4 separate regions of the Homo sapiens genome follow, and regions 2, 3 and 4 are each linked to region 1. Evidence: promoter capture Hi-C in 16 types of primary human blood cells and fetal thymus (Javierre and others, 2016). All regions are on one chromosome and are shown on one strand. The core of a region is centred on a gene start or on the middle of the fragment in contact, and the rest is flanking DNA. Distances in the headings are between cores, read along the strand shown.

Region 1 (7,881 bases), core at 3,042-5,541:
CATAAGAGCAAGCCCTTCTATGCAGGCACAAACAGCATATCCCACCCTAGTATGTACAGAATAGCAGACCCGGCCTTGCGGGTAATGGCTGTGGGTGAAACAGAGGCATGGAAGCCACAGCCAGGAAAAATTCAATGCTAACAGCTGAGGAGAGGGTGCATTGATGCCTCAGCATGCAGTAACATACAGCGCTGTGATGCAGGGGATGGCGGTGGTAAAGGAATTAAGGTTATTTTATGCAAATGTCACATGTCACTTACCTGAAGCCCCTCCCCATCACCTGGAAAGCCCCTTCATGGGCATCTGAGGATCCTGGCAGCAAGAACTTCTTCCTTTAGATCTATTCAGAGATACACCAGGCAAATGCAAAACAAACAAACAAAAGTAAAGCAGGAGTGGGAAAATAAAGTCAATGTCAAATCAGGCAAAAATTGTTACATGAAAAAAAGACAGCTGCGAATGAGGATGAAAGATGTTTATTCTAAGCCATATATGCTTGGCTGGGCACAGTGGCTCAGGCCTGTAGCTTAGCTAGCACTTTGGGAGGCTGAGGCAGGCAGATCACTTGAGGCCAGGAATTCAAGACCAGCCTTGCCAACATGGCAAAATCCCGTCTCTACTAAAAACACAAAAAAATTAGCTGGGCGTGGTGGCACATGCCTGTAATCCGAGCTACTCGGGAGGCTGAGGCATGAGAATCGCTTGAACTCAGGAGCTGGAGGTTGCAGTGAGCTGAGACTGCGCCACAGCAGTTCAGCCTGAGCAACAGAGTGAGATCCCGCCTCAAAAAAAAAAAAAAAAAAATGCATGCTTGAGAACATGGTAATAATGGGAAAACGTCACCTGTTAATTCACATGCTAGTGATTATGTACTGAGATAAATTATACATAATTCTTTTTAGCTCCATTTTATTGAGGTATAAAATTTATTCATTGTAATGTACATTTTACCAAATGTAGTTACTACACCAGTCAAGATGTAGACCATTTCTAGGCCTGGAGAGTCGCTTGTGCCTATAATCCCAGCATTCTGGGAGGTCAAAGCAGGAGGATCGCTTGAGCCCAGGTGTTTGAGACCAGCCTGGACAACAGAGCAAGACCTCGTCTCTACAAAAATACATTTTTTTAAATTAATTGGGCATGTTGGCATACACCTGTGGTCCCCGCTATCAGGGAGACAGAAGTGGGAGAATTGCTTGAGCCCAGGAGGTCCAGTCTCTGGTGAGCAGTGACAGAGTGAGACCCTGTCTCAAAAAAAAAAAAAAAGATACAGACCATTTCTGTTACCCTAGAAAGTTCCCTGTGACCTTTGCAAACAATCCCCTCCTTAAGGCCAGCACCAGGCAACCACTGATCTGCTTTCTATCACCACAGATTAGTTTCGTGTGTATTAAAGTTTTTTTTTTTTTTTTTTTTATCAATGAAGGCACATGGAATGCATTTTTGGTGTATGGCTTTCTTTTCCTCATCATCATGCTTTTGAGATTCATCTCTGTTGTTGTGGGTCAGTAATTTATTCTTCTTTAGCAGGTATGCTAGCCACCAAGATCCTGCTCATCCTGTCTGATCAGCATGATGTCATCAATCAGTCTGACTTTTTTTTTTTTTTTTGAGACAGAGTCACGGTCTGTCTCCAGGCTAGAGTGCTGTGGCGCAATCTTGGCTCACTGCAACCTCCGCCTCCCAGGTTCAAGTGATTCTCTTTCCTCAGCCTCCTGAGTAGCTGGGACTACAGGCACGCATCACCATACCTGGCTAATTTTTGTATTTTTAGTAGAGATGGGGTTTCACCATGTTGGCCAGGATGGTCTTGATCTCCTGACCTCGTGATCTGCCTGCCTCAGCCTCCCGAAGTGCTGGGGTTATAGGCATGAGCCACCATGCCCAGCCCAGTCTGACATTCTATGGGATGTCCAGGTGATCCAGATATCTTTCAACTATATTATGACAAAGGGCAAGTGAGTCAATATAACCTGCCTGGACTGCCTACTTTCTTAACCTAGTCCTCTGGCTTTCCCATACATTCTGTGAGCTACCCAATATAGTTCTAAGAAATTGACTTTTTGCCTGAGTTAGCCAGAGTCAGTTTGGATTACTTTTACTCCCAAATCCTGACTGATAAAAATGTTGGGCACCAGAGGTTGAATTATAGGCAAGAGATATTCAAGGAAATATGATCAATCTGGGATTGGTTATCTGACATAATTGGACATAAAAACAGTGAACATCCCCATTAGCGTTCAGAGTCAGGAATTTTGGAGTTGTGGGCAAATAGGGGTAAGTTGGCAAATTAAATTACAGCACTGGATTGTGATCAAGACTCTATACAATTCATTTCCCCAATTCCAGGTGTCAGATTCTAGCATGCTTAGCAAAATGAAGAGAAATCTTCCAGGTAGAATGAAAGCATTGATTTACCTTTGGGGATTATGACCTACTTGGCCTAAATCTGGATGGGGGAACAGAGCCAGGAGGCAGGCCGGAGCCTTCTGACTCCACTGGTCACGTGGCAGTAAAGGAAGACATTGGGAACCAGAGATGGTCTGATGGTCCTACATATGCCTGGCCCAGGAATCCCTTACCCAGGAGAGGTTCTGTAGTGAGCATAGGGAAAAACAAGATAGTGGGAAATAGAACTGAAATTTCAGGCTATCCTTACCTGGGCTAATGCATGGTGTTGCAAAGTAGGGCTTTCTAGTAGTAGCAGCAGTACCCCTGAAGTACCAATCTTACCACCAGTCAGCTGAGGAACACCAATGGCCTTGTGCTTATAAGCAAAAGAAGCTGGCACATTTTCAAAAATGTCCAGTTCATTGGTGTCCTGGGTCTGCCTACTGCCTAAGGGCAGAGAGAAGAGAGAGAGGGGATGCTGGAGCAGGCGGTATAGTCTGTACCAGGCCTTGTTGGAGCCCCATGGAGACTGGGAGGAGAGGACAGCTGTGTCTAACAGAAGCCCAGCATACTTTTCCTTCTTGTTTTAAAGAGGGAGGGAGAGGGAGGGAGAGAGAGGGAGAGGGAGGGAGAGGGAGGGAGAGAGAGGGAGAGAGAGGGAGACAGAGGAGAGAGAGGACAGAGAGAGAGAGAGAGAGGAGAGAGAGAGAGATACTGGAAAAGGTGTCCTCATCAGTGTTCTAGAGTTTGTCTCAACCAGATTGGTGTTTGTTCCTTTGGTAGAAAGAAAGCAGAAGTGTGGAAGGGGTAGAAATTTCTTGCACTCTGTATTTTGCAAACTTATGTATGCAAATTTCCTTGCATATGTGTAATGAACCAGAAAAAGTAGGATTCAGGAGCACATGTTTTGGAAAAATACTGCTTTGCCTCTGGCTTTTCAATCCTCACTACTGTTCTGTCACTGGCCCTGGATTCTACCCATACCCTGGCTCTCATCAGCCCCCTGTCTTTGACCCATTTTTCTGCCTGGATTTCTAGTCCTGTGGTTATATTTTTTATATTTGCCCTTTGCTTCCATTTGTTTATCACTCGACTTTATGCTGATATAGTGTGTTTTTGTAAATTGTTTCAAATCCTTTACAGAATGAGGGCTGGGTATAAATGAAAAATTGTGTGCAAACATAAATGTAATACAGCTATCCTCCTGTATCATATTGTCCTTGAAGGTCTAGATAATCTCAGCTCCAAACCCTTTCCCCATCCAGTGAGAAGGCTGTCACTCTCCTCAAGATTTCAGTGAAATGGTTGAAGCTCATTTTTTTCCCAGTCACCCCTGGCTGCTGTTGTAAAGTGCCCACATATTTGAGAAAACTTAGAATTGCACCTCATTTCTCTGCCCAACCTCAGCACTTGCCTTTGGCTGGAGGAGTTGAGAGAGTTGTCTTTTACCTCTGTCTGCTTTCATGGAGTGCTAAGAGCATCTCCCCCACTTTCTAATGCATGCTATTTCAGTTCTCCCTGGCCCCATGTCCAAACACTGGGCCTAAGCCATCCAGCCCAGGCTCACTAAGGTGCATGGCCAGCCCTGGAGCCTGACTGAAGATTTGAAATGTCTGGTCTTCACTTGTCCTTCTCAGCCACCTCAGCAAGGGGTGGGGACAAATACAGAGTTTACTTCCTCCTCATGATGCCACCTTACCTCAAAACAACTTTGATCTGCTTGAGTTGAATGACTTTTCCACCCTCTTTCCTTGGCAGGAACAAGTGACCCTGTCTTCCGTGGCCTCGTGGGGCTGGCTCTGCTCCTCCTCCCTTGACTGAGAGACGTCATGGAGATTGGGTGGAGGGAGGACTGTAGAGTTGGTGCACCCACGTCAGCTAGTTAGGCAATTTCACTTTTCTTTTCCTCTTTGACTGAGCACCGAGGGGCAGTTGGCAGCTTCACCTCAGAGCTGCAGGAAGGAACGGGGCAGTGAAAATCGAATCGGGTGTGATCCTAGGCCAAGCTCATGGCCCAGCAGGGCCAGCAGGGGCAGATGGCAAGTGGAGACAGCAATCTCAACTTCAGGTGGGTCATCGTCTCCTTTCCCGTCTGTCCTTCATCTCTGGTAGGGTTCCCTTTCATACTTGTTATTTAATGTCTACCCAGCTTCACTCTACAGGTATACAATAGAATTCAGTTACAAATAAATAACGAGGCAATCAGATTTTTTAAATTGCAGGGATTGGCTGTTGGAGAAACTCAAGGATGCCGTGACTCACATCATCTTCCTATTCTCTTACATCTGCAAATGGCTGGACTGGAGCTGTTTGAACATCATGCCTGTTCTGAGGCTTTGTGTAGGATTGGATGATTCCCCGTGACCTCTGAACCCTCTCTTCTCCCCCAGGCCTCCTTTATCCCCACTCCAAAAGACAACTCTGTCTAAAAAGGATCTTTTTAGAAGAATTAAAATCCAAACGCCTGTCTGTTGTCACACTTTCCAGGCTGTGTAGTTGGGGACCGGTTCTGCTCTGAGCCCATCTATGTGGCTCTTAGCCCTAGAATCACTTCAGGATCTCTGAATACTTGGTAGGAGGAAGTGAAAGCAGATGAGACCCAACAAAAAAGGCAAGCAGGTAGAGAGTGAGTGCTGCTTCTGCTTTTTTTATTCTTCTGTTCTGGTATTTTTTACATATCTGGTCAGAGAAGCCTGGAAATCATCTTTAAAAAATGTAAGACAATGAGACCAGTCTGACCAACGTGGAGAAACCCTGTCTTTACTAAAAATACAAAATTAGCTGGGTGTCATGGTGTATGCCTGTAATTCCAGCTACTCAGGAGGCTGAGGCAGGATAATCGCTTGAACCAGGGAGGCAGAGGTTTTGGCGAGCCAAGATCACACCATTACACTTTAGCCTGGGCAACAAGAGTGAAATTCCATCTCAAAAAAAAAAAAAAAAAAAGACAAGTACATCAATACGGTCATTTCTTCTTATCTGTGGATTCTGTATCCATGGATCTAACCAACCATGAATGCAAAATATTTTCTAAAAATTAAAAACATAAATAACAACAATAAAAAGTAATATAAAAATTTAAAATACAGTATAACTATTTGTATAGCATTTACATTGTATTAGGTATTATAAGTCTAGAGATGATTTAAAATATACAGGAGGATGTGCATAGGTTATATGTAAATACTACACCTTTTATATCAGGGACTTGAGCATCCATGGATTTTGGTATCCATGGAGGGTCCTGGAACCAATTCCCCCTGGATACCAAGGGATGACTGTACATTCTTGATAAAAATGAAAATGTGTGGAATGTAAAAATGTATGGAAACTTGTCTAATTGGGACTCTGTGCTAAGGCTACTTCTGGCGCTGGTACAGCCCCAAGAAAGCAAAAGCTATTGCTATTATCAGCAGTAGTGGTGGCACCAGACTGGTTTTCAGTGCCCAGTGCCACCACTCCCAGACAGGCATCCCTGTCATCTCTCTTTCACTTGCTCTCTAGTGAAGGGAAGATGAGCCAGCGGAGCTCAAAGTCCAGCCAGCCCATGGTCACCAAGCAGGAAGAAGACGGCACTGAGAGGTGACAATGGGCTAATGCTAACCTCAAAGAATGAGTTAGGAAGTGTTGCCTCTGCTCTTATTTTTGGAGGAAATTGGGGAGGATGATGTCATTTCTTCCTTAAATATCTGGTAGGATTAGCTAGTGATACCATCTGGGCCTAGTACTTTCCTTTCTGGAGGGCTATTAATTATCGATTCAAATTTCTTTAATAGATGTAGGCCTATTCAGACAACCTATCTCTTGTGCAAGTTTTGGTTAGTTTGCCTCTTAAAGAATTTGTTCATTTCATCTGTGACCAAATTTGTAGGTGTAGAGTCCATAGTTTTCCTTTATTACCTTTCCATTGTCCATGGAATTCGTAGTGATGACCCTTCTTTCATTCTGATGATTTCCGTCTTCTCTATTTTTTTCTTTGTTAGGCTGGCTAGAGGTTTATTAATTAACTCTTTGAAAAGAAAATCAGCTTTTGGTTTCATTAAGTTTCTCGAATGTTTTCCTGTTTCAATTTTTTTAACTTCCACTTTAATTTTAATTTTTTTTCCTGCTTGCATCAGGCTTAAATTGCTCCTTTTTTCTCTAGTTTCCTCAGATGAAAGCTTAGATTATTGACTTAGATCTTTCTTCTTTTCTATTGTATGCATTTAATACTATACATTTCCTTCTAAGTGCTGCTTTTGTTGCATCCCATTCATTTTAATAAGTTGTTTTCCTTTTCATTTACTTCAAAATATTTTTAAAATTCTTTTAGGACTTCTTATTTGACCCTAGAACTCTTTTGGTTAATCTGGAAATATTTTGGAATTTTCCAGCTATTTTTCTGTTACTGATTTCTAGTTTATGGTCTGAGAACAAACTTTTAGGATTTCTATTCTTTTAAATTTGTTAAGGTATGTTTTATGGCCCAAAATGAAGTACATCTTGGCAAATATTCTATGTGAGCTTAAAAAGTACATGCATTCTGCTATTGTTAAATGGAGTACCGTATAAGTGTCAGTTAGACCAAGCTGATTGCTATTGCTCATCAGGTCAACTACACCCTTACTGATTTTTCTGCCTGTGTGATATGTCAATTAATAAAAAAGAAGTGTTGAAGCCTTCAATAATAGTAGTGAATTTGTCTATTTCTCTTTATAGTTCTATCAGTTTTTGCCTCATACATTTTGCCATTAGTTTGTTAGTTGCATACACATTAAGGATTGTGTACCTTCTTGGAGAATTGACCCTTTTATCATAATGTAATGTCCCTCTTTAATCCCTGACAATTTTCCTTGTTCTGAAGCTTCTTTGTCTGAAATTGATATAGCTACTATACCTTTTCTTTGATTAGTGTTGGCATGGTATATCTTGCTCCATCCCTTTATGTTTAACCTATCTGTATTTTTATATTTACAATGACTTTCTTATAGACAACATATAGTCGGGTGTTTTGTGTTTTTTATGTACTCTGTTGATCTCTTGTCTTTTAATTGGTGTTTTAGACCATTGGCATTAAAGTGATTATTAATATAGTTAGATTAATATCTACCACATTTGTAAATGTTTCATTGTACCTATCGTTTTTATCTTTTCTTCCTTTTTTCCTGCCTTTTCTGGTTTAATTGAGCATTTTATGCTTCTATTTTCTCTCCCTTCTTAGCATATCAATTATACTTCCTTTAAAACATTTTTAGTGGTTCCCTGAAGTTTGTAATATATATTTACAGCGAATCATGCCCATTTTAAATTACACTATATCACTTCATGAGTAGAGAATACACCATGCAACTGAATGTCCCAAATTCTGCCCTCCTGTTCTTTTTAACATTGTGAAATGACTGACAATGTTAAAAAGAACAGGAGGGCTTCCAGTCATTCCATTTATTTATGTCCCATAACCACTCAATATGTTGTTGATTCTATTAATTTGAATAAATGGCTTCATTTTAG
Region 2 (7,881 bases), core at 2,923-5,422, 240 kb after region 1:
GGTGTTGGCAAAAACAAACACCTGAGATAAAGTATTCTGAAACTTGAAGTATTGTTTCTGATAGAGTTCTTCAGCAAGTCATGGCACATTTAGTGATTTTTTGAAAGACTTTTGCAAATTGTCTTATTTTTAAATTTACAATAACCTTAAAGGGGTAAACAGAAGAGAGATTCTCGTCCTTGTTTCCTAGATGAGAGAACACAATTGCATAAATGTTTCAAAGTCATCTCCAAAATCTCATGGTAAATTAAAGGAAAGACAAGACTAGCATCCTGGATTCTGAGTTACTTCCTTTGTGAAATGAAAGAGAGAAACATTATTAAAATCTTGTATTATCTCAATCCTATTTGCAGCATGAGTTGTCATAAGATTTATAACATAAATACTTATCATAACATAAGTATGCAAATTGGTTGATTTGTTTTGCCCTTTACTTTCTAGATCCAGAGGATATTAGAAATATGCCACTTTAGGGAAAATACACTAGGGAAAGACCTAAGAGCAAAGAAGAACCTCATCTTGATGTTATAAAATAACAATGTAATAATACATTCATTCTAATTGCTCACTGTATCTTTCAAAGTAAAATGTAAATTTGCATTAGTTTTTAGACAATATGTACTCTAACTTTGAACTTAGTGTAAGCAATCTGCTGTAAAAAATAGTCCCAAAATATGTCTTTGGCTCAAATACATGAGGAGATTATTTCTCAGCCTTGTAAACAATTCAGCAAGGCACTGGGTTGGTGGGAGGTAGAAAAAGCTCACGAATTTAACAGAAGATCTTCAAGGTCCCCCTGCATGAAAAATAGAAGCAGAAACAAAGGAAATGTGGAATGGCAAGCAGAAGGGATAAGAAGTAAAAGAAGCGTGGGAAAGCAAAGGCCAAGCAAGGCAAATATTCCCTCTGGGGACAAGAATGGAGTATCACTAACCCACAATGAAGGTTAGTTGAAAGGCAAGACAAGCATGGCCTGTGTACAGGCGAGGACTTGCACGGATTTTCAAGGTTTTCCAGGTTTTCTTATTAGGGAATTTCCTACTGAACTGATTCCTTGGTCACACACTGAGACCTCTAAAGAATCCCATTCTTTTGTGCAGTGATCAATAATGACAACCCTTTAGAATCAAATGATGAAAAGGAGGGCCAAGAAGCCACTTGCTCACGACCCCAGATTGTACCAGGTAAGAATATTAGAGTTGCAACCCGAGACTGTAGAATATCCAGAGTACAAATCCAGAGCTCTGTTTTCTTGATTAATTTCATTCTGAGTGGTCTCCTTATGCCTTGATTCCATAAATTCTAGAATATCACTTTCTACATTTAACCTCTCTGGCCCTGTTGAGAAATGGAAGACATTAGGAAGGTGTTATAAACTCTTGTTTAACTGGATTGGTTCAATCGATTGATACATTGAAAATGTAGCAAAAATATGCTAGTAAAATAACAGTCTTTTTAACAACAAACTATCAAGAGTTATTATTTCAAGAGTTGAAATAATGTACTTATTCTCTACTACTACCCTTTATATTTGATAGAGCATGATAAGCACAGTCTTCCTTTGTTCATTGATAATTATTGTCTTAATCACAAGCTCAGAAAGTCTTCAAAGAATACTTTGTGCTGCTATTTAATTATTAATGGCAAAAAAAAAGTGACTTCAACTACACCCAAACCCAAATTATAGTTCACTTATTGGCTTACATTGTGATTTTTCACAGGGCTTTTGAAAATGAACCTTCATTTCCCCATCACAAAAACCTTAACAGGGAGGTAGGGTAACTAGTTTATCCCTGCTTTATATGTGAGAAAATGGGAGCTAGTGGTGTTTAAGAGTCATTTATGACCAGGCGCAGTGGCTCACACCTATAATCCCAGCACTTTGGGAGGCTAAGGCAGGTAGGTGGCTTGAGCTCAGGAGTTGAGATCAGCCTGGACAACATGGAGAAACTCCACCTCTACCAAAAATACAAAAATTAGCCAGGCATGGGCCGGGTGCAGTGGCTTACTCCTGTAATCCCAGCACTTTGGGAGGCGGGGGCAGGCAGATGATGAGATTAGGAGTTCGAGACCATCCTGGCCAATATGGTGAAACCCTGTCTCTACTAAAAATACAAAAATTAGCCAGGCATGGTGGCGCTTGCCTATAGTCCCAGCCACTCGGGAGGCTGAGGCCAAAGAATCACTTGAACCCAGGAGAGGGATGTTGCAGTGAGCCAAGATCATACCACTGCACTCCAGCCTGGGTGACAGAGCAAGACTCCATCTCAAAAAAAAAAATTAGCCAGGAATGGTAGTGTGTGTGCACCTGTGATCCAGCTACTCGGGAGGCTGAGGTGAGAGAGTCACTGGAACCTGGGAAGTTGAGGCTGCAGTGAGTTACGATTGTGCCACTGCACTCTAGCCTGGGTGACAGAGTGAGACCCTGTCTCAAAAAAAATAAGTAAAAAAGAACGAGATCATGTATTTTGAGAGAACGTAAATGGAGCTGGAGGCTATTATCCTTAGCAAAGTAACGCAGAAACAGAAAACCAAATACCATATGTTCTCACTTGTAAGTGGGATCTTAATAATAAGAACTTATGAACACAAAGAAGGAAACAGCAGATGCTGGGGTCTACTTGAGGATGGAGGGTTGGAGGAGGGAGAGGAGAAGAAAAGATAACTATTGAGTACTGGGCTTAATACCTGGGTGATGAAATCATCTGTACAACAAACTCCTGTGACACACATTTACCCATGTGACAAACCTTCACATATACCCCCAAACCTAAAATAGAAGTTGAAAAAATTAATTAAAAAGAGGCATTTCCAAATAATACACACAGAGGATTATGGAGAGAGCTGGGCAGGATCCCAACATTATGACCCTGAACCTCCAGAACTGGATTCACTAGAAGGAGAGAGAGAAAAACGCTCATCAAAACTTTGTTATTGGCAGGGCACGATGGCTCAGGTCTGTAATCCCAGCATTTTGGGAGGCTGAGGCAGGTGGATCACCTGAGGTCAGGAGTTCGAGACCAGTCTGACCAACACAGTGAAACCCCGTCTTTACTAAAAATACAAAAATTAGCCGGGCTTGGTGGTGCACAACTATAATCCCAGCTACTCAGGAGGCTGAGGCAGGAGAATCACTGGAACCTGGGAGGCAGAAGCTACAGTGTACCAAGATTGCACCACTGCACTCCAGCCTGGGTGATAGAACAAGACTCCATCTCAAAAAAAAAAAAAAAAAAACTTTGTTATTAACCCAAGCCCATTTGCCATGTCAGTTGTCATAGAATTTATAAGTCTCTTGCATACAAATAACGGGTTTCTCCCTTTTACTTTACAGAGCCCATGGATTTCAGAAAATTATCTACATTCAGAGAAAGTTTTAAGAAAAGAGGTAAGAGAAAGCTTTAGGAAAAGAGGTAAGAGAAAATAACTTCTCTTCATGGTTATAAATGAACAATATTTTCTACAAAAGAGTCAGTCTAATTCCTTGCTATATCCTTCAAAGTAAAATATAAATTTGCTTTAAATTTCAATGGTTCCTATTTTAGCCTTTGTATTAGGGAGGTTGGCTAACTGCTATAACATATGAACCCAAAGAAGTCAATGACCCCAACACAACAGAAGGTTTTTTATTTTTTTAGTAGAAGTTTGTATTTTTTTCAACTGAATATTTCAAGGATTTTTAGATGAGGGAAAGGTTGGGCTCTGTTTCAAGCAGTTCTTCAGGGAAGCAGGCAAGTAGAAGATCTGCCTTCTCCCATCCTAGACTTTCATGGTTGCCCTGAGAGAGAAGCAAATTTACAAATAAATACAAATCCATATACAAAAACCACAACAAAACCATAAAGGGACAAGTAAAGAAAGAAAGATAATGTGGTGTAAGAAGACAGAGGGCCAAGACAAAGCAGAGATGCCCACTGGGGCTAAAATTTTCTCAGCCTCAGGCTCAGGTGACAGTGAGGGATAAAATACTAACCTTGAGCCACACAAATCTGAATGAAAAGGCAGATCATGGAGGTTTGAGGCACGGACATTCTTGCCCTGAAGTTTCAGAGCATCACAAATTTTCCTAGTTTCCTTTTCATAGAATATTATTCTGACTTGGTTCCCTTATCATACATTGAGAGCTCCAAAGGACATTTGCTCCTTTCTGCAGTGATAGGACAAGACCACGACTTTTCAGAATCCAGTGAGGAGGAGGCGCCCGCAGAAGCCTCGAGCGGGGCACTGAGAAGCAAGCATGGTGAGAAGGGTAAGAACAGCTCCCTTGACTTCAGGGCTCTGACTTCAGAGCACCTCTTCCCTGATGCACTGTGCTCTGAGCACACACAACAGCTATCCAGGAGCCAGTTCTCTGCATCTACCTCATCTGGCCATTTTGAAAAATGCAAAGAAAGAAGTCACTCTAAATTCAGGCTTAACAAGATGGTTGTGGTTGAGTGGCAGTGGCCTGTTTACTACATACTGCCTGTATTAGTCCATTTTCATGTTGCTGATAAAGACATACCTGAGACTGGGTAATTTACAAAAGAAAGAGGTGTAATGGACTTACAGTTCCACATGGCTGGGGAGGCCTCACAATCATGGCAGAAGGTGAAAGGCACGTCTCACATGGTGGCAGACAAGAGAAGAGAGCTTCTGCTGGGAAACTCCCCCTTATATAACCATTCAGATCTTGTAAGACTTATTCACTATCACAAGAACAGCACAGGAAAGATCTCTCCCCATGATTCAATTACGTGCCACCAGGCCCCTCCCACAACACATGGGAATTCAAGATGAGATTTGGGTGAGGACACAGCCAAACCATATCACTGCCAGACCTATTAACTCCAAAGTATTGGATTTATGTAGTGATTTCTACTTCTGCTCATTCTCTGTTTTGTAAAGAAAAGAAAGTACACTAGTCTGTTATTGCCTGATTTTGTCACCAACTTGTTCAAAATTCCAAAGCTTCTGGTCATACTCTCTAGTTATTGACAGAAAGAAAGCCTCCTGTTTCTTACCATCAGATTCAATTCATAGCTTTTGACAGATGGCCCCCAACATGAAATTGGCCAAATAGTGATATTTGAAAATATATTTACAAATAAGATCTACTTGCATCTTTACAACAACCTAAAAGGTGGGTGAGATAACTATTGTTCCCCCCATTTGACAGATGGGGAAACTAAGGCACACTTAAGGATCTTTTTTCTTTGCACATCACATATGGAAAGTTATAGGAGGAGACAAGACTAACAACCCAAACTCTTAATAAACATTCATAATCCTCTATAAAACCTTCAAAGCCAGATGTACTTCAAAGTTCAAAAAATGTTTTATTATTTTAGAAAGACAATGTGGTTTATATTCTATATACAACAAAATACCCTAGTAGGATCCAGGGAAGAATCCCATTCTCAAATATACTAATGTTTATACAGCAAATTATATAAATATTCACACCAAATATGATAAGATTTTACACGGACTCATGGCAACTCAAGTCCAGATTCACTGCCAAATTAGTTAGCTGCAAACCTATGAAAACAATACTGGTTATTAAAATATCTTTGAGGCCAGGTGTGGTGGCTCACGCCTATAATCCCAACACTTTGGGAGGCTGAGGGGCTGAGGCAGGTGGATCTTTTGAGCCCAGGAGTTCAAGACCAGCCTAGGCAACATGGCAAAACCCCATTTCTACCAAAAAATGCAAAAAATTAGCTGGGCATGGTGGTGGTGCATGCCTGTAGTCCCAGTGATGTGGGAGGCTGAGGTGGAAGGATCATTTGAGCCTGGAAGGTCAAGACTGCAGTGAGCCAAGATTGCACCACTGCCCTCCAGCTTGGCTGACAGAGTGAGACCCTGTCTCAAAAAAAAAAAAAAAAAAAAAAAAGTCATTGATTTTGCAATTAGGGCTAAAGGATTGTGGGTCTGTGCTCCATTTGATAGTAATCTCTTTCCCTTAGATGGGAAGAGACAGAAATGATCCTCATAGAATATTTATAGTCCAAATTCTGTCAACAGTGTAAGCAGTCATAAGATTTATAGATCTTTTAGTTAGATATTATTGATTTGGTTTTCCTTTACTTTCTAGCTCCTATGACTTCTAGAAGTACATCTACTTGGAGAATACCCAGCAGGAAGAGACGTAAGAGCAATTAAAAACTCTTGATGTAACAAATGTCTTTATTTGCTGCAAAAGCTACATTCACTTTTTATGTTATATCCTTTAAAATAAAAAATTAATTTGTTGGGATTTTAGATGATTTGCATTTTACATTTTCAATTAGATGAGTTGGGCTGGTATAAAACATAAGCCTCAAAATGTTCAAAGGCACAAGTGCAACATAAGTTTATTTTTCACTCACATAAATAGGATAAAGTAGTTCCTGAGTAGAGGGGGTGCCCACACAGTCATTCAGGGCCCAGCTGATGGGGGCTCTGACATCTTTAAGATGTTGCTTCCATGGTTCCCTTGGATAAGAAACTGAGATGGAAGCAGAAGTATGTGCAAACTAATAATGAAAGCCTAAGAAGCGTAAGAAACAACGTTGTCCTAGGATTGTATTCAGAAAAGATTGAACATTATGTATGTTCCTTTTATTTGATTATGCATGAATGAGATAGGAGAAAACGATGGAAGGATCCACACTGATCTGTTGACTTCACTAGCTGGGAGACCAGAGACAGAATAGGGTAGGAAAAGAGAGCTTTGGGGTTATATACATTTGCATTCATTGGTCTTCTTATGACAAGCATATATTGCTTTCTTAATTTGAAACCACCCAATGAAATGGATGATTTATAATAAATACATATTTTTCCCAAAGTTAAAAAAAAAAAAGAAGAAGAAACAATGTCATCCCCAGCCCCAGCCTCAGAGAGGGCTCCTGGAGCAATCTTGACCAACAGGTCAGATGATCAAAGCCAAAGGGTGGCCTAGTGGTGGGACTATTTCTCCCCCTCCTCCACAAGCTTCTCTTGTTCAGTTTTGCTTTTAAAGAATTCCCTGCTGATTCCTAAGACTCAGACTAAGACTGTTAAGGAATTTTATTTTTTTCTGCAGGTTTCAGCAGTAGTGACTTTTCAGACCTGAGTAATGGAGAAGAGCTTCAGGAAACCTGCAGCTCATCCCTAAGAAGAGGGTCAGGTAAAGAAGATTAGGATGCCAAGACTTGGCCTGCAGAATGTCAGGAATGTGAATTAAAAGCTGCTGTTTCCAGACGCTTTTTATTCTGAGCACCTTCACTACCTTGTATCCAGTTCATCTGGGAACTCCTTTTTGCATTTTAGAAAATGGAAAGAGGCAGGAAATTATGATAAACTCATGTTTAACAGAAAGAGTTTCACTGACTAAATGTATGTAATTATATTTTGTTGTTGTAGAAGAAATAAATAGCAAATTTGTGGTATTCTTTTTTTTAAACCTGCTCTCATTCCTATTAACACTAAGATCTTAGATTTTTATAGTGATAAATGGGTTGACATCATTGTCATTTGTAATTGTAAAGCCTCAAAAGACAACTGTTCCTACTATGTAATTATAGACAGAAATAAAAACTTCAGATCAAACACTCTCAAACGTTAGTATAGTTTTTGGTAGATGTCCTTCATCATGTAATTGGATTATATTGTGTTATTTCAATGTCTTTTGGCAAATAATATCTTATTTTGTCATCACAAAATTTTTAAGACATAGGCAGGCTAACTATACCCATTTTGGGGTGAGGAAATAGATGTACAGAAGTATTAGGGCCAAAAAACTAAAGAAACAATAGAAACTAGCAACCCAGGTGTCTCACGGTGGGTGACTGTTGTATGTAACAGACAGGAGGATAAGAGCTGTGTCATTTAAGTCAAAGTCCAAAGAAGATGCGCAAGGAACTCAGAATATTCACA
Region 3 (7,881 bases), core at 2,690-5,189, 160 kb after region 1:
TGTAAAATATATATATACATATATATAACCATATTTTATGTGAAATATTTATACTTGTGAAAGTATGTTTTTATGTATCTATCAATCCTTACATAGATATATGCAATTATTTATCTGTGTGTATGAAGAGATATAAAGCTATAGAAAAATCAGTGGCTGTTCATTTATAAAGATATATGCAGTGGTTACATTTAGTCAGTATAATAGAGGTGATGTTTATATTTTTATTTGTGGTATTTAAGTATATGTGTTGTATTAAAATTTTAAAAATCTTCAACTTTTATAATGAAAAAATGGTCTTTAAAAGGCAACATATGCAAAAAGAAAAGCCTAGGAGAATATTTGTTAACAAATCACCATCTGGAGACAGCCATCCTCATCTGTGGCTATCTCTAGATGATGATGTTTTAGACCATTTTATTTTCTGAATTTTCCATAATTATATATGTTATTTATTTTAGTCATGGTCTAAGGATTTCCTTTCTCCTAGTCAATGAAGGCTGTCTTATTTTCCAAATGATGCTCAGTTTTGAATCAGTGGATCTGTATAGTAAGATTTTAGAGTCCTATTGAAAATTGTTTCTTTTCACCAATCATCTATCTTCTGCTCTTCTGTTCTTGCCAGTTTAAGTGTCTGCCCGGCTTGTGGATGTACATTTGTGTTTGGAAAGAAAAACAAGTGGTTGCATTTATTTTAAGAATGGGTGTTTTTGGCCGGGCATGGTGGCTCATGCCTGTAACCCCAACACTTTGGGAGGCTGAGGCGGATGGATCACTTGAGGTTGGAGTTCGAGAACAGCCTGGTCAACATAGTGAAACCCTGTCTCTACTTAAAATACAAAATTTCGCTGGATGTGGTGGCGGGCGCCTATAATCCCAGCTACTCGGGAGGCTGAGGCAGGAGAATCACTTGAACCCAAAAGGCAGAGGTTGCAGCAAGTCAAAATTGTGCCACTGCACTCCAGTCTGGGAGGCAGAGAAACACTCTGTCTTTAAAAAACAAAACAAACAAACAAAAAACAAGAATGGGTGTTTTCAAATTAAAAAATTATTTGGACTGAGTCATTATAACATTTTCATTTAAGTCTGTGTGTATTATCCTAACACATTCTAAGAGACTTCAATGTACGGTTAAATTCTGTGTGTAATTTAGAAGTCAACACTCCCCAAAGCAGAAAATGCTCTGGACACCTGCTCGAGGGGATCCAGAGTGAAACCCAGGACTCCCTCACTTGCGTTTGGTCCAGCCTGTGAGCTGTTGTTCTGCCCAGTTCTATTAATACATTTTCCCTTGCCTATCCCCAGATAACAGCAAAGCCGATGGCCAGCTGGTCTCGAGTGAAAAGAAGGCGAACATGAATCTGAAAGACCTTTCCAAGATTAGGGGTAAGATAAAGTTGGTACCACTTTTCATTTGCCCTGCAGGTCAATGCACATGTTGAGGTTTTGAGGAGCCTAGAAGCTTTATTGTTTACTAGTCAAACTTAGTCAATTTCAGAGCAGTGAAATCTAAAAAACAGCAAACCCATTAGAAGCCAGAGTTGTAAGTTGATTGTATTCATATCATAGATCTTATCTGTCCAAGTTCTAAAGTTGTTTTCCTCTGTGTTTTATCTGATTTTCCTGGGAATTCCTTTGCCTTAAATCATTGGCTAATTAAAATGGCTGGACCTGGTAAATTGTAAGCAGAATACAGGTTTATTTTCCCACTGCCCTTTGAAGTCCTCCTCCTAGATAAGTTATTTCTTGTCCTGAGCAAGCCCTATCGCTTTCCTGTTCCCTTTTCACAACAATAAGAGTCTCATTTCAGTAATTGAGAGTCTTTCTGACCAAGTATTAAAACTCCAATGTCCTCCCCAGTTTAAAGCACCTTCCCTCCTTCAGCCTGGGCAAGCCTTAGTCTGGAACACATATAGTTGGGGGGTGACATGGCCAGTGTCTTCTCTTATTCTGTCTTGGCCCTACCCCCACTCCATAGCTGTTGGCTTGGTCCCATCCAGGATTGGGGAGGTGAGAGAAAGGGGTGAGATCAGAGTGTGGAAGTGTCTTGCCTGACAGGTGCAGCCGTGAAATGACATTGCAAGTGGTTGATGCACAATCACTAGCTCTTTCTTCCGTGAGATGCTTTCATCAAGTCCACTGCAAGGGAAGGGGAGGGGTCAGGCATCACAGCTTGACTTATTTTGAAAGAAATAGAGCTTTTCTTCTACAACCTGGGTGTGAGTGAAGGGCTGAACCTGGCATAATCAGTTCCACCAACTCTTTCTATGGTCCCATAGGTGGACTGGTGCATTGTCCTAGGATGCGGGTGCTTGGAACTTGGGTAATCAACTCAACCTACTTGCTTGGGACTTTCTCAATTTTGCCAGTGAAACTCTCATGTCCTGGGCACCCCCTTAGTCCTGGACAGACCAGGACAATTGGTCATTCTACTTGGTACTTATTGGATTGTTCCCAACCATTGGGACTTGAAGTGAAATTTTGAGAAAACAGGAGGAAATTGAAAACTCTGTCACACTTCTTTCTAGAGGTTAATACCAACCATAACAATTATTTTAAAACAACTTTAAATTATATTCTGACCACCATAGTATTTATTAAGGTTTATGTTAGGGTTTCAGTATTGTTAAATGGGTATTACAGCCTGAGACACAATAATATTTGAATCCTGCCTTGCTCAGCCACTTGATTCTGAGAGTAAAACACAGTAGTGCTGTATTATGAATTTGCTGGATTTAAGCTCCAGTTTGTTCTGTACCAAAACCTCCATAGACTAGAGTAGACTTCATGTTGTTTCTTTTTTCTCCCTAAAAATATGAGGCCTAAACAGATTTAATGAAAGCTAAATCCGACATACCCACTAGTCCCAGAAAAGATGTAACCAGACAGAAACAGCTAGAGAGAAAGGAAGAAATAACTCTGTATTAGCTGGACTGTTCAAGGTTGTGGCCAGAGCTCTAGTGCCAAGCCTGGCTGGAATATAGGAGGGAAAAGAGCAGCAAGGATATGACATCTGGATCTATTCTCACTGTACGGTGAGTGCGGACCCTCAGGAGAGGAGGGAGGGGTGAAGCATTGAAGAGGAGAGACCTGGAGATGTCCTGGACTTCCAGAGTCCACTTGGCATCTTGCGTGGGAGAGGAGGGGAGGAGAGCTTCTCAGAGAGCCACACCTGTGTGGCTGATGTTCTATTGCCTGGAAACCTCATCTTCCAGAGGCAGGCAGCAAGATGGAGCAAAAAGATTAACATGCGTCTTGGAGAACCACAGTTCCACCTCTTTAGTAGTTTTTCTTAGCCCTTGGCTGTTACTATACAAGCCTCCTACCTCCCTATACAAGTTTATTAAACTCTTCTAAAGCTCTTCTTTGAGTGCCTGTTATCTTGGTTAAATATTAACAGGATGACAACTTGCAAATTTGAAACTTGTTTGATCTTGGGATAAGATGTCTGTAATTATCAATATTGGTTCCTTGGGCCATTTGGGTCTTAAATGGGTAAAAACCTGGTCAGTAACTGTGTAGTCTAAAGACCAGAAAGTGGAATTATATTACCAAGCCATAGGTCTACTTTGGGTCCGATTGGTCCTTTCTACTTTGCTGGCCTAATATGCTCATAATATGCTTAGAGTTTAGAGCACTTAGGAATAAGTAGGTTGGAAAATATTTTTCCATGGGGCCTACATGACCCTGACCAGCATCCCTAGATGGTGGTCATTGGATGGTGGACATCCAGCACAAGGAGGAAGGAACATTTTGCTTTCCTGCTTTGGAAAATAAAACACATTTGAACATTAGTAAACATTGAGATGCCCACTCACAGCCAATTAACATGCACTTGGGAGAACGTCGTCGGCTGCAGTGTCTGCCATGTCAATCCTTAATTACTATTTGGAATGAAGGCTGTGGAAGTCTCAATTCTACCCATTCCTCATGGTTAACCTTCTTCTGATTAGTTTCTTAGATCCTAATATTTATTTTTTCCAAAGCCATGTGAACGAAGCCCTGGTCACATTTACTATTACTTTCAGCACAAGGGTACAAATATCTTCCCCCAATGTGATATGTGCAGCATACATCTCACCTATGGAGCACCTAATAGGGTTTCCCTTAACTCACAGAACTGCCATTTATTTGTGTCTCTGCTAAGAGAAACCCAAACACCTTCACTTAATTTTGTAGTTTTGTCTCAATTTTCTCTGAATATTTTAGTCTCTGTAATGACAGTAATCATCATTTTGATCTTGCAAAGATTAAATTAGTGGATGTGTGTTTAACATATATTATATGCCATATATATATTTCAAATATATATTTGAAATGAAATATGAAATGAAACTTCAAAATATGAAATGAACCTTCAAAATATGGAATGAAGTATTTATACTGTTGTTTGAGTTATATGTGAAATACTGATTTCAATTAGTTTTTTTCTAATGTAAGAATAGGAAAATGAAATATAAAGTGAACCTAACATTAGCTATCTAATTCTTCATACCTTAAAGGCTAGGGTTTAAATCTTTTTATTTATATATTAAACAGGCTTTTGGAAAGTTACATTTAAATGGAATTTTTGAAAAGCAGCAATATATGTAACACAGCTGCTCATTTGTAACTGTGATTTTATTATTCTACTTTCTCAGGGAGAAAGAGAGGCAAACCTGGAACCCACTTTACTCAGAGTGACAGAGCTCCACAGAAAAGAGTCCGATCAAGAGGTAAAAAAGAAAAGAGGAATGCACTTTCAATAACTAAACATCTAATTTCCTGTGCTTTATGCTGTATTTTCAGTAATAAACCTATTTCTTTAATTGTTTTATGAAGCTATACTAACTATTGAAAAACATATCTTATTAAGTCATTTTCCAAAATGTATCAAGGAAAGAAGGAAGTAAGTTGGTGATGGATCTACAACCAGACCCTGGGGCCCCAGGGGGTCACTAAAGTGCTACTTCCACTGAAATGATAAATTTCAAGGCTGAAGATAGGCCATTGCTGTATAAAGGGTATAACCCGTAAGTGATTTAGCTGATCTTCCTCTGGCTACACAGAAAGCCACATGTTGCACACTAAGGTTGAACCAGAGTTGTGGTTAGAGATCTGTGTCCTAAGGCTTTTTGGCTTTTTAAAAAATCTTTGACTGTGTGATCTTGTGCTGACCACTTGGCCTTCTTTGCCTTGGTTTCCTCATCTGAGAAGCTAGAGGATGAATTAGGCCAACCACCCTTCTTATTAGTCCATCCCAGTCTAAATAGTGTGCCCTTTTCAAAACCAGTCTCAGGACCAAAGACCGCTTCCCCTGCCCATCATGGCCTCTACACCTCTGTTTGGAAGGGCAGGATTAGCTGCTCATCCTCCTGGAGTTTTTCTTTGAAAAACTTTCACACCTACTTCTGTAGTATCCGGTTCTCAGTTCCCCACCCCCTGCTAGGTACAATTTTCAGATTATTCTAGAGCTCCCTGAGCTCCTTTCTCAGCTGTGGAGAAAGCTGATAGGAGGGGAAAATGGAGCAAAGCAGAGAATAAAAGTAGAAGGCAGGTGCTGTCTCCATTAGGTTATCTCATCATTAGCCTCTCCCTCCTTGACCAGTCAGTGCCCAAATGGGAGACTGATTATGGTCTCTGGCTTCATCTCTGGCTACCTAACTGCAGCAAAACAGAATAGCTGGAGAGCGCCCATCAAACCAATGACAACAACTGTATGTTTCATTGTCATATAAGAATCAGTGGAGCTTACTACACTGGAAGTTAAAACAGTTTTACTGAAGTCTAATTTCTCTGATAAAGCATTCAATTTTCTGTGAAATTTGAAAGGTGAAATTGGGGCACACATTCTGTAGTTACCGATCAAAAATGCCACTTGGAAGAAAGACTTTGAAACTCTAGAGATTTATGGAATAGAATTTCCTAAGTACTCTTTGTGCCTTTATAGGATTTACCTCAGTGGGAAGGGGGGATGTGCCTTTGCAAAGTGAGACAGAATGAAGAAATCCTCTCTTTCAGCTTCAAGAAAGCACAAAGATGAAACTGTGGATTTTCAGGCTCCTTTACTTCCAGTGACCTGTGGTGGGGTGAAGGGAATTTTACATAAGGAGAAATTGGAACAAGGTGGGTTTCATAGTCTTCTTTAATTTGCAGCTCCTATCTGAAGGCATCACAAGAAGTGGTGAAATTATTTGTGTGAATTACACATCATTCAAGGAGTTTTGGGCCCAGTTTAGCTTGAGGGAAGGAGGAAGGGATCCCTAAGATGACATTTTAAGACTTTAAGAAATCACACCCATTAGACGCTGACTCGCACATGGAGTGTCCAGGGGGTACCCAAAGAACAAAAGAGAAGGCAGGAACGTCAATTCACAGATGGAAAATGTCAGGTATTTTACTTTGAATCAGACAGAAAAGGGAAGAGGCCCTCAACCTCAAGCTTCATATTCTCTCTCCCTTCTGGAGTGCTGTCACCAAGGCAGGGTGCTTGGCTTGGGTGATGATCACAGGTTTTAACATTAGGAAGCCTGAGTTCCAGCCTTGGCTGTGCCAGGAATGACTGTTCCATTCTGAGTAGAGAAGGGGACCTTTCTGAATGTGAAATCTCTCATCCAAGAGAGGGAACAATAATTAAAAACCTACCTCATGATGTAGCTGTGAGAATTAATTTACATATTAATGTAAAATATTTTACGATTGAAAATTATAAAACTGTCAAAAATGTCTATCAGAATGGCCTTCATCTCAGACCTCTCTTAACTTGGCTCTTTGAGCACCAATTAATATAAACATTTTCATTGTGACTTTTTTTAACAGCTTAACTGAAATACAGTTCATGTATCATGTAACTCACCACTTAGAGTATACCAATCAATGATTTTTTTTGTATTTTCACAGGATTGTACAGCCATTATTATCACCTAATTTTAGAACAATTTGTCCTTCACTAAAGAAAACCCCATGTCAATTAGTAGTCAATGCCCATTCCCACCTCACCCCAATGCCCAGCCCTAAGCAGCTGCTAATCTATTTTCTGCTCTATAAATTTGCTTATTCTAGGCATTTTCTGCAAATGGAATCCTATCATACATCCCCTTTCATGACTGGCTGCTTTTAATCAGCATGATGTTTTCAAAGTTCATTCATATTGTATTAGTACTTCATTTCTTTTCTTGATAAATCATATATTTCATTGTATAGATATACCACATTTTGTTTATCCATTCATCAACTTGGGTTATTTTCACTCTTTGGCTGTTATAAATAATGCTGTTTTGAACATTTATGTAACAAATTTGGTGTGAACATATTTCAGCTCTTTGGAGTGTATATTCAAGAAAGGAATTGCTGAGTCAAATGGTAATTCTATTCTTAACTTATTGAGGAAACACCAAAGTGTTTTCCACAGTAGCTGCACTATTCTATATTCCCACCAGAAATGTATGAAGGCTCCCATTTCTCTACACACTCACCAACACTTGTTATTGTTTGTCTTTTTTATTATGATCATCCTAGTGAGTGTGATGTGGTATCTCATTGTGGTTTTGCTTTGCATTTCCCTAATGGCTGATGGGGTTGACTATCTTTTATATATAACTTAATTTTTCTATTAGGTAACATTTCACAATTATTTTTTAATATCAGCTGCCCATGATTGCACAGATGAGAAAATCTCTGTTCAATAATGCCCTAAAACTGAATGAAAAATGTTGTAATAGAAGGTGCATATGTTGCCAGTGTGGCCTCCTGAGCCACAGGGCACCTATCTCAGACTGTACCCCTAAGTAAGGATTCTGCCTCCACATTGCCTCCAGAGCCATCTGCAGACTCAGGCCTGGTCTCTACTCCCAGAATTCAACAGCAAGTTGGAGTCCTCTCATCTTTCAGAATCACTTGCTT
Region 4 (7,881 bases), core at 999-3,498, 140 kb after region 1:
GAGCTGAGATCACACCACTGCACTCCAGCCTGGCAACAGAGAGAGAGACTCCATCTCAAAAATAAATATATTGTAGGTATTATTTTTAAGTTTTGTCTTTTAACTTTTATACTAGAGATGTAAGTGGTTTACACACCACCATTACAGTATTAGCATATACTGTATTTTGACTGTGGACTTATTTTAACCGTGAATTTTGTATTTTCTTGTGTTTTTATTTTATTAGTTAGCATCTTCTTCTTTCAGCTTAAATAATTCCCTTTAGTATTTCTTGTAAAGCAGGTCTAGTGGTAATGAACTTTCTTAGCTTTTGTTTGCCTAGGAAAGTCTTTACCTCTCCTTCATTTCTGAAGGACACCTTTGCCAAATACAGTATTTTGGTGGGCAGTTTTTTTCTTCAGCACCTTTAATATGTCATTTCACGGTTTCCTGGTGTGTAAGGTTTTTGCCAAAAAAGTTCATTGCTATCTTTATTGAAACTCCCGTATATGTTATTTGCTTCTGTTCTCTTGCTGCTTTCAGGATCCTCTCTAAGTTCTTGAATCTTGACAGCTCATGTTGGTGTAGTCTTGTTTAGATTGAATCTTTTGACCTTCTGGTACCTGAAGATTTATGTTTTTCATCAGATTTGCAAAGTTTTATGCTATTATCTCTTTAAATAATCTTTCTATCCCTTTGTCTTTCTCTTCTCCTCTATGAATTTCTGCAACTCAAACATTTGCTCTTTTCACAGTCTCATAAATCCTGTAAGTGTTCCTTATTACTTTTCATTCTTTTTTCTTTTTCCTTCTCTAGCTGTATTTTCAGACAACCTGTCTGAGTTCAAATTCTTTCCTCTACATGATTAATTCTGATATTGATGCTCTTTGTTGCATTTTTTCATTTTATTCATTGTATTTTTCAGCTCCAGAATTTCTGTTTCTTTTTAAAAATAATTTCAATCTCTGTTAAATTTCTCATTTTGGTCATTTATTGTCTTCCTGATTTCAGTGAATTGTTTCTTGGTATATTCTTGAAGTTTGCTGAGATTCCTTAAAACAATCATTGTAAATTCTTTGTGAAGCAGTTTGTTATCTTCATTGCTTTGGGGTGAGCTATGAGGAGATTATTGTGTCTTTTTGATGGTGTTATGTCTCTTTGGCTTTTCACATTTCTTATTACCTTGCATTTATATCTGTGCATTTAAGGAAGTAAGGACTTATTTCAGCCTCTGTAGATTGGCTTTGTCTGGGAAAGCCTTTCACCCTACTTAGAAATTCTAGGAATTACATCTTGCATAGACCAAAGAAAGGCTTGCTGCTGAAGGTGCCTAGGATAATCAGTGGGCAGGTCTATGCTGGGGCAGGCCTTGAGCCAGAGTCTGCAGGGATCTACACCACTGGTGCAGCCATCTTCAGGCACTTCAGTGAGCCTGAAGACCAGTGCATGAGAGGCAGCTTGGTACTGGGATGAGACTGAAGGCCAGAGCCACTGGTAGTAGTCTGGGTTCACTGAGGCTGAAGTAGTGCTGGGGCAGGCTGAAGACTGCATCTGTAAGGGCTGGCCTGGAGCCTGGGGATTCAGGATTCAGCCTGGGTTCAGTGTGAGCTTGGAGGTTCAGACCATGTGTACCAGCTGGAGTATCTACAAATAAGGAAACTGCTGATTTTATATAGAGTTTTAGGAAACATAGTTCAGGCACTACAGACTTTCAGAAACAGGAGTGTATGAATAGTTTAGCATTTAGCCATCAACACGGGCTTTCTGGAGGGGGCTGCGGCTGATTGGCTGGCCTTCAGATGTGTAGGACTGCCACTGATGGGCTAGCTCTCAGAAATGATTAGTGATATAAGTAATCAATGGCCAATTAGGACAAGTTGAAACAGTTACTTCTTACTACTTTCTTTTTGTTTGTTTGTTTTCTTGTTTTTGAGACTGAGTCTCTCTCTCTGTCACCCAGACTGGAGTGCAGTGGCACAATCTTGGCTCACTCACTGCAGCCTCTGCCTCCTGGGTTCAAGTGATTCTCCTGCCTCAGCCTCCCAAGTAGCTGGGATTACAGGCGCACGCCACCACACCCAGCTAATTTTTGTATTTTTAGTAGAGACAGAGTTTCACCCTGTTGGCCAGGCTGGTCTTGAATTCCTGACTTAGTGATTTGCCCACCTCAGCCTCCCAAAGTGCTGGGATTACAGGCATGAGCCACCGCACCCTGCCACTTCTTACTGTTTTCAAAGAACATTAGTATTTTCTGGAATGATAAGAGCTTTTTAATTTTTTCTATTTTACTCTCAGGACTACAAGTAGAAAAATAAAAGTAAAGAAAAGGAGAAGGAGGTGCAAAACATGGGGAGAGCATGGCTGTTATGTGTCAGGCGTGATTATTGGAGCGGGTATATTTTTTTCCAGAGAGCACTTCACCTTGGCTCAGAATATTAGTGTCCAGCATCACAGCACTGGGAACTCTTCTCTGGTCACTGTCTAGAGGTCACCCGAGGAATGTGTGTGACCTCTAGAAGCTGAAAAGACAAGGAAATAGGTTGTCCTCTCCAGACCCCAGAAAGGAATAAAGGCCTACTAACATAATGACTTTAGGCAGTGAGACCTGTGTCACACTTCTCACTGACATAACTGGAAGATAATAAAATACAAAAATAAAAATAAAATAACTTTTTTGTTTCTCATTAGTATCTGGTGAACTAGAAAATTACCAAATGACCAAAGAAGGAGAATCAGAAGAGCTTGCTTCTAGCTTGCTATGATGTGATGTACCAAGTAATTATGACTTAAAAATATTAAAAACAGAAACAGAGTTCTGATAATGAAAAAAAGACAAAAGAGGACAAAAAGGGAGACTTAAAGGAAGAGTCAAATATAGGGAGGAGAAGTGAAAGAAGATTTCGGAGGAAAAAGTAGAGAAGAGGGCAGCAACCAGGGTGCAGAAAAGAGGGTTATTGGGGCAAATTAAAAGTTCATAAATCACAATTTTGCCCCGGGAGCAGAGCGACCAGCATGTGAAAATGAGAAGTGTTCCTATGTCATGTGTTTCTCAGGAGAAGTGCCAGAAAGCCCGGAAGCAAGGAAGGAAAGTGACCAAGCATGTGGCAAAATGGGTAAGGCTGCCTGAGGGCTGTGGGATGGGGTGGCTCAGTGGGCCCCACAGACCCTGGGAAGAGTGGAGGCAGGTGCTCCAGTCCGCCCAGAATCCTGTTCTGTGCATTTGCCTCACCCAAGCCTTTGGGGAACTGCAGAGAGGCAAGAGATCATTATAAAGTTTTACTTATCAAGATGGGCTCTGTTGATTACATATGGATGACGTCATAGAATGGTGCTGCTCTTTAAAGTGGCAGTTATCCTGTTTATTGCATTAATATGTTAAGTCACACTCAATATTCCATGGAACCCAAGATAACCCAGTGAACTTCTGCTAGTAGATAATAGTGTCATTTTGCTACACCTTAGAAAGGCCTCACCCAAAAGACAACTAATCCTGGTATTAATTGTCAGGGGGGAAGACTGCAGGTCTACTCTTAGCCCAACACGTATTTTTGATAGAAGACCCAGGGCCCATCCTAGACTCCTAGTTCTCAGTTCAGTGGGTTTTTGGTTCCTCTAGAAGAAAGAGAGAAATGAGTAACCAAACATCTTTATAAACTCAAGCCTTCTATAGTATGAATTGTCCTAAAATCTATAACTTTTATTTATTAATTTCTGTTTCCTCACTACCACTTGTTATTTTCTAGATACTGTGGATATTGCAAACAACTCTACTTTGGGAAAACCCAAGAGGAAAAGAAGTAAGAATAAATAAGAATTTACTTGCTTTTGATGTTACAAATACATTTTTAATGCCAGAGTTTTCTTTTTGTCATTGTTACTGTTTCTGTTATTATTTGCAATACTGTGGTAGAGAGAATGATGGCCACCCCAAAAAACGTCCACCTCCTAATCCCTGGACCTGTAATCTGCTATCTTACATGGCAAACGGGACTTTACAGATACAATTAATTTAGAGACCTTGAAATGGGGAGATGATCCTGGGTTATGTGGTGGGCCCAATCTAATCTTGTAGGCTTTAAAGAGTGGAGAACTTTTCCTGGCTGTGGAGAAAGGAAAATGTGACTATGGAAGAGTCATCAGAAACATGTAATGTTGCAGGCTTTGAAGATGGAAGAGGGAACCAAGGAATGTGGATGACCTCTAGAAGCTGAAAAAACAAGGAAATAGTTTGTCCTTTCCAGCCCCCAGAAAGGAATGAAGGCCTACACCTTGACTTTAGGCAGTAAGACCCGTGTCACACTTCTCACTGACATAACTGGAAGATAATATATTTGTGTTGTTTTAAACCACTAAATTTGTGGTAATTTGTTATGGCAGCAATTAAGAGTAATACGGATTTTAGTACTTGGCAGTGGGGTGTGGCTATCACATATTCCTGAAAGTGTTGGGGTGTCTTTGAGATTGCGCAGTGGAAAGAGGTTGGAAGAATTTTAAATAGAGTGATAGGAAAATCCTAGATGAAAAAATGGAAATTAAGTCAATTAATAACCCTACAATGGCCTGTAAGTGCTCAAGTTAAAGAAAGAGTCGGCCGGGCGCGGTGGCTCACGCCTGTAATCCTAGCACTTTGGGAGGCCGAGACGGGCGGATCACGAGGTCAGGAGATCGAGACCATCTTGGCTAACACGGTGAAACCCCGTTTCTACTAAAAATACAAAAAATTAGCCGGGCGTGTTGGCGGGCACCTGTAGTCCCAGCTGCTTGGGAGGCTGAGGCAGGAGAATGGCATGAACCTGGGAGGCGGAGCTTGCAGTGAGCCAGGATCGCGCCACTGCACTCCAACCTGGGAGACACAGCGAGACTCCGTCTCAAAAAAAAAAAAAAAAAAAAAAAGAAAGAGTCACATGTACTCACTTTAAATAAAAATCTAGAAATGATGAAGTTTAGTGAGGAAGCTATGTCAAAAGTTGACATAGGCTGAAAATTAGGCCTTTTGCAGAAAATAATTGGCCAAGTTATGAATGCAAAGGAAAAGTTCTTGAAGGAAATTAAAAGTGCTACTCCAGTGAACACTTTAATGATAAAGCAGAACAGTCTTATTGCTGATGTGGAGAAAGTTTGAGTGGTCTGGATGAAAGATCAAATCAGCCACAACATTCCCTTAAGCCAAAGCCTAATCCAGAGTAAGGTCTTAACTCTCTTCACTTCTCTGAAGGCTGTGAGATGTAGAAAGCTTCATAAGAAAAGTCTGAAGGTAACACCAGTTGGTTCATGAGGTTGAAGGAAAGAAGCTGTTTCATAACATTAAAGGGCAAGGTGAAGCAGCAAATGCTGATGTAGAAGCTACAGCAGGTTGTCCAGAAGCTCTAGCTTAGGTCACTGATAGAGTTGGCAACACTAAACAACAGATTTACAGTGTAGACTAAACAGCCTTCCATTGAAAGAAGATTCTGTCTAGAACTGTCATAGGTAGAGAGGAGAAGTCAATGCCTGGATTCAAAGCTCCATAGGACAGGAGGAGTCTCTTGTTAGAGGCTAATGGAGCAGGTGACTTTCTCTTGAAGCCAATGCTCATTTACCATTCTGAAAGTCCTAGGGCCCTTAAGAATTATTCTAAATCTACTCTGCCTGTGCTCTATAATTGGAATAAAGCCCAGATGAGAGCACATCTGTTTACAGCATGGTTTACTGAATATTTTAAACCCACCATTGAGACATATTCCTCAGAAAAAAAGACTCTTTTCAAAATATCACTGTTCATTGACAGTGCACGTAGTCATACAGGAGCTCTGATGGAGGTATACAAGGTGATTAATGCTATTTCCATGCCTGCTAACACAACATCCATTCAGCAAGCCCATGAGTCAAAGAGTAATTTCAACTAGCAAGTCTTAATATTTAAGAAATACATGTTGTAATGCTATAGCTGTCTTTATATATAGTGATTCCTCTGATGAATCTGGGCAAAGTCAATTGGAAACCTTCTGGAAAGGATTCACCATTTCACATTGCGATTAAGAACATTCATGATTCATGAGAGGAGGTCAAAATATCAACATTAGCAGGAATTTGGAAGAAGTTGATTACAACCCTTATTGATGACTTTGATGGGTTTAAGACTTCAGTGGAGGAAGTCACTGTAGATGTGATGGAAATATCAAGAAAACTAGAATTAGAAGTGGAGGTTGCAGTGGTTCCCACCTGTAATCCCAGCACTTTGGGAGGCCAAGGCGGGCAGATCACCTGACATCAGAAGTTCAAGACCAGCCTGGCCAATATGGTGAAACCCTGTCTCTACTAAAAATACAAAAATTAGCTGGGCGTGGTGGCTTGTGCTTGTAGTCCCAGTTAGTTAGGAGGCTGAGGCAGGAGAATCGCTTGAACCCGGGAGGCAGAGGTTGCACTGAGCAGAGGTTGCACCACTGCACTCCAGCCTGGGCAATAGAGTAAGACTCCATCTCAAAAAAAAAAAAAAAGATGTGGAGCCTGATGATGTGACTGAATCGCTGTGATCTCATGATAAAACTGAGTGATAAGGAGTTGTTTATTATGGATGATTAAAGAAAGTGGTTTCTTGAGATGGAATCTGCTCCTGGGAAAGATGCTGTGAACATTGTTGAAATGACAACAAAGGATTTAGAATATATTAGTTGATAAAGCAGCAGCAGGTTTTGAGAGAATCTACTGTGGTAAAATGCTATCAATAGCTTTACATGTTACAGAGAAATCTTTCATGAAGTCCATCAACACAGCAAACTTCTTTACTGTCTTATTTTAAGAAATTGTCACAGCCACCTCAACATTTATCAACCACCACCATGATCAGTCAGCAGCCATCCACACCCAGGCAAGACCCTTTACCAGCAAAGAAATTATGATTTTCTGAAGGCTCAAATGATTGTGAGCATTTTTTGAGCTATAAAGTATTTTTAATTAAGGTATGCCCATTGATTTTTTAAGACATAATGCTATTGAATACTTAATAGACTACAGTATAGTATAAACATAATTTTCATATGCACTGGGAAACCAAAAAAATTGTGTCTTGCTTTATTGCAATATTCACTTCATTGCAGTGTTCTGAAACCAAACGTGCAATATTTCTAAGATATACCTATATGTTTTATCCCAAAGATGTTTGAAATTTTTATCTGATCAAATCTGTCAGTCTTTTCATTTATGGTTTCCAGGTTTTGTGTACAATTTACAAATATATTATCCTCCTCATAATTTGAAAACATTTTTACTTGCTTGTAGAATATTTGAAATACTTTTTAATGTTTAAATCTATAACACACATAGAATTCATTTATTGGTGTATGATGTGAGATGATAATTAAGAGATATAACCCCAATACTTTTTTCTTCTTGATTTGAAACATGATTTTATATATATTTTCCAATATACACAGATCTGTGTCTTATCACATTTCTTTATCCATTCATCTGTTGATGGAGACTTAGGTTGTTTCTATGTCTTAACTACTGTGAATTATGCTGCAATGAACATGGGGGTGCAGATATCTCTTTGGTTTCATTTCCTTTGGATACATACCCCCAAATTAGATTTCTGAATGGCATGTTTTTCTATTTTTAATTTTTGGAGAAACCTCCATACTCTTTTCTGTAATGGCTGTACCAATTTACATTCCCACTTACAGCATACAGGGGTTCCTTTTCTCCACACCCTCACCTATACTTGTTATCTCTTGCCTTTTTGATAATAGCTATCCTAATAGGTGTGAGGTGATATTTCATTATAGTTTTGAGTTACATTTCTCTCATGGATGGTTAGTGATATTGAGTGCTTTTTTATAACCCATTGGCTATTTATATGTCTTCTTTGGGAAAAAGTTTATTCAGATCCTTTGCCCATTTTTAAATTAGGTTATGACATGATTT

What was found. The method cuts DNA at HindIII sites, captures the fragments that hold promoters and counts their contacts. A CHiCAGO score of 5 or more calls a contact.
Region 2: a contact is called between a fragment that was not itself captured here and the fragment with the promoter of SP140 in region 1, in 7 of 17 cell types (non-activated CD4 T cells, naive CD4 T cells, total CD8 T cells and 4 more). The highest score is 8.9, in non-activated CD4 T cells.
Region 3: a fragment that was not itself captured here is called in contact with the fragment with the promoter of SP140 in region 1 in 5 of 17 cell types (total CD4 T cells, non-activated CD4 T cells, naive CD4 T cells and 2 more); the score reaches 9.6 in total CD4 T cells.
Region 4: a contact is called between a fragment that was not itself captured here and the fragment with the promoter of SP140 in region 1, in 5 of 17 cell types (total CD4 T cells, naive CD8 T cells, naive CD4 T cells and 2 more). The highest score is 6.9, in total CD4 T cells.

Annotation. Positions count from the first base shown.
Region 1 is chr2:230,221,445-230,229,325 of GRCh38, forward strand. SP140 (SP140 nuclear body protein) reads left to right here and starts at 4,292. Exons shown (of 27, transcript NM_007237.5): 1 at 4,292-4,459. The coding sequence starts at 4,401. It also overlaps a transcript of SP110 not described here. RefSeq lists enhancers at 4,172-4,381, 4,612-4,661, 4,732-4,811, 4,832-4,881. The HindIII fragment of the contact is 6,572 bases long and covers 1-6,549 here.
Region 2 is chr2:230,462,967-230,470,847 of GRCh38, forward strand. SP100 (SP100 nuclear antigen) reads left to right here. Exons shown (of 29, transcript NM_001080391.2): 11 at 1,101-1,184; 12 at 3,335-3,388; 13 at 4,154-4,249; 14 at 6,077-6,130; 15 at 7,049-7,132. The region is part of intron 3 of LOC101928816 (a long non-coding RNA gene); the gene reads right to left. Among named protein-coding and RNA genes, the nearest start is that of SP100, 51 kb to the left of the region's middle. The HindIII fragment of the contact is 1,551 bases long and covers 3,398-4,948 here.
Region 3 is chr2:230,383,919-230,391,799 of GRCh38, forward strand. It overlaps SP140L (SP140 nuclear body protein like), which reads left to right. Exons shown (of 19, transcript NM_138402.6): 9 at 1,306-1,386; 10 at 4,641-4,715; 11 at 6,001-6,105. Among named protein-coding and RNA genes, the nearest start is that of SP100, 28 kb to the right of the region's middle. The HindIII fragment of the contact is 4,959 bases long and covers 1,461-6,419 here.
Region 4 is chr2:230,367,876-230,375,756 of GRCh38, forward strand. SP140L (SP140 nuclear body protein like) reads left to right here. Exons shown (of 19, transcript NM_138402.6): 6 at 3,033-3,092; 7 at 3,723-3,776. Among named protein-coding and RNA genes, the nearest start is that of SP100, 44 kb to the right of the region's middle. The HindIII fragment of the contact is 5,923 bases long and covers 1-5,210 here.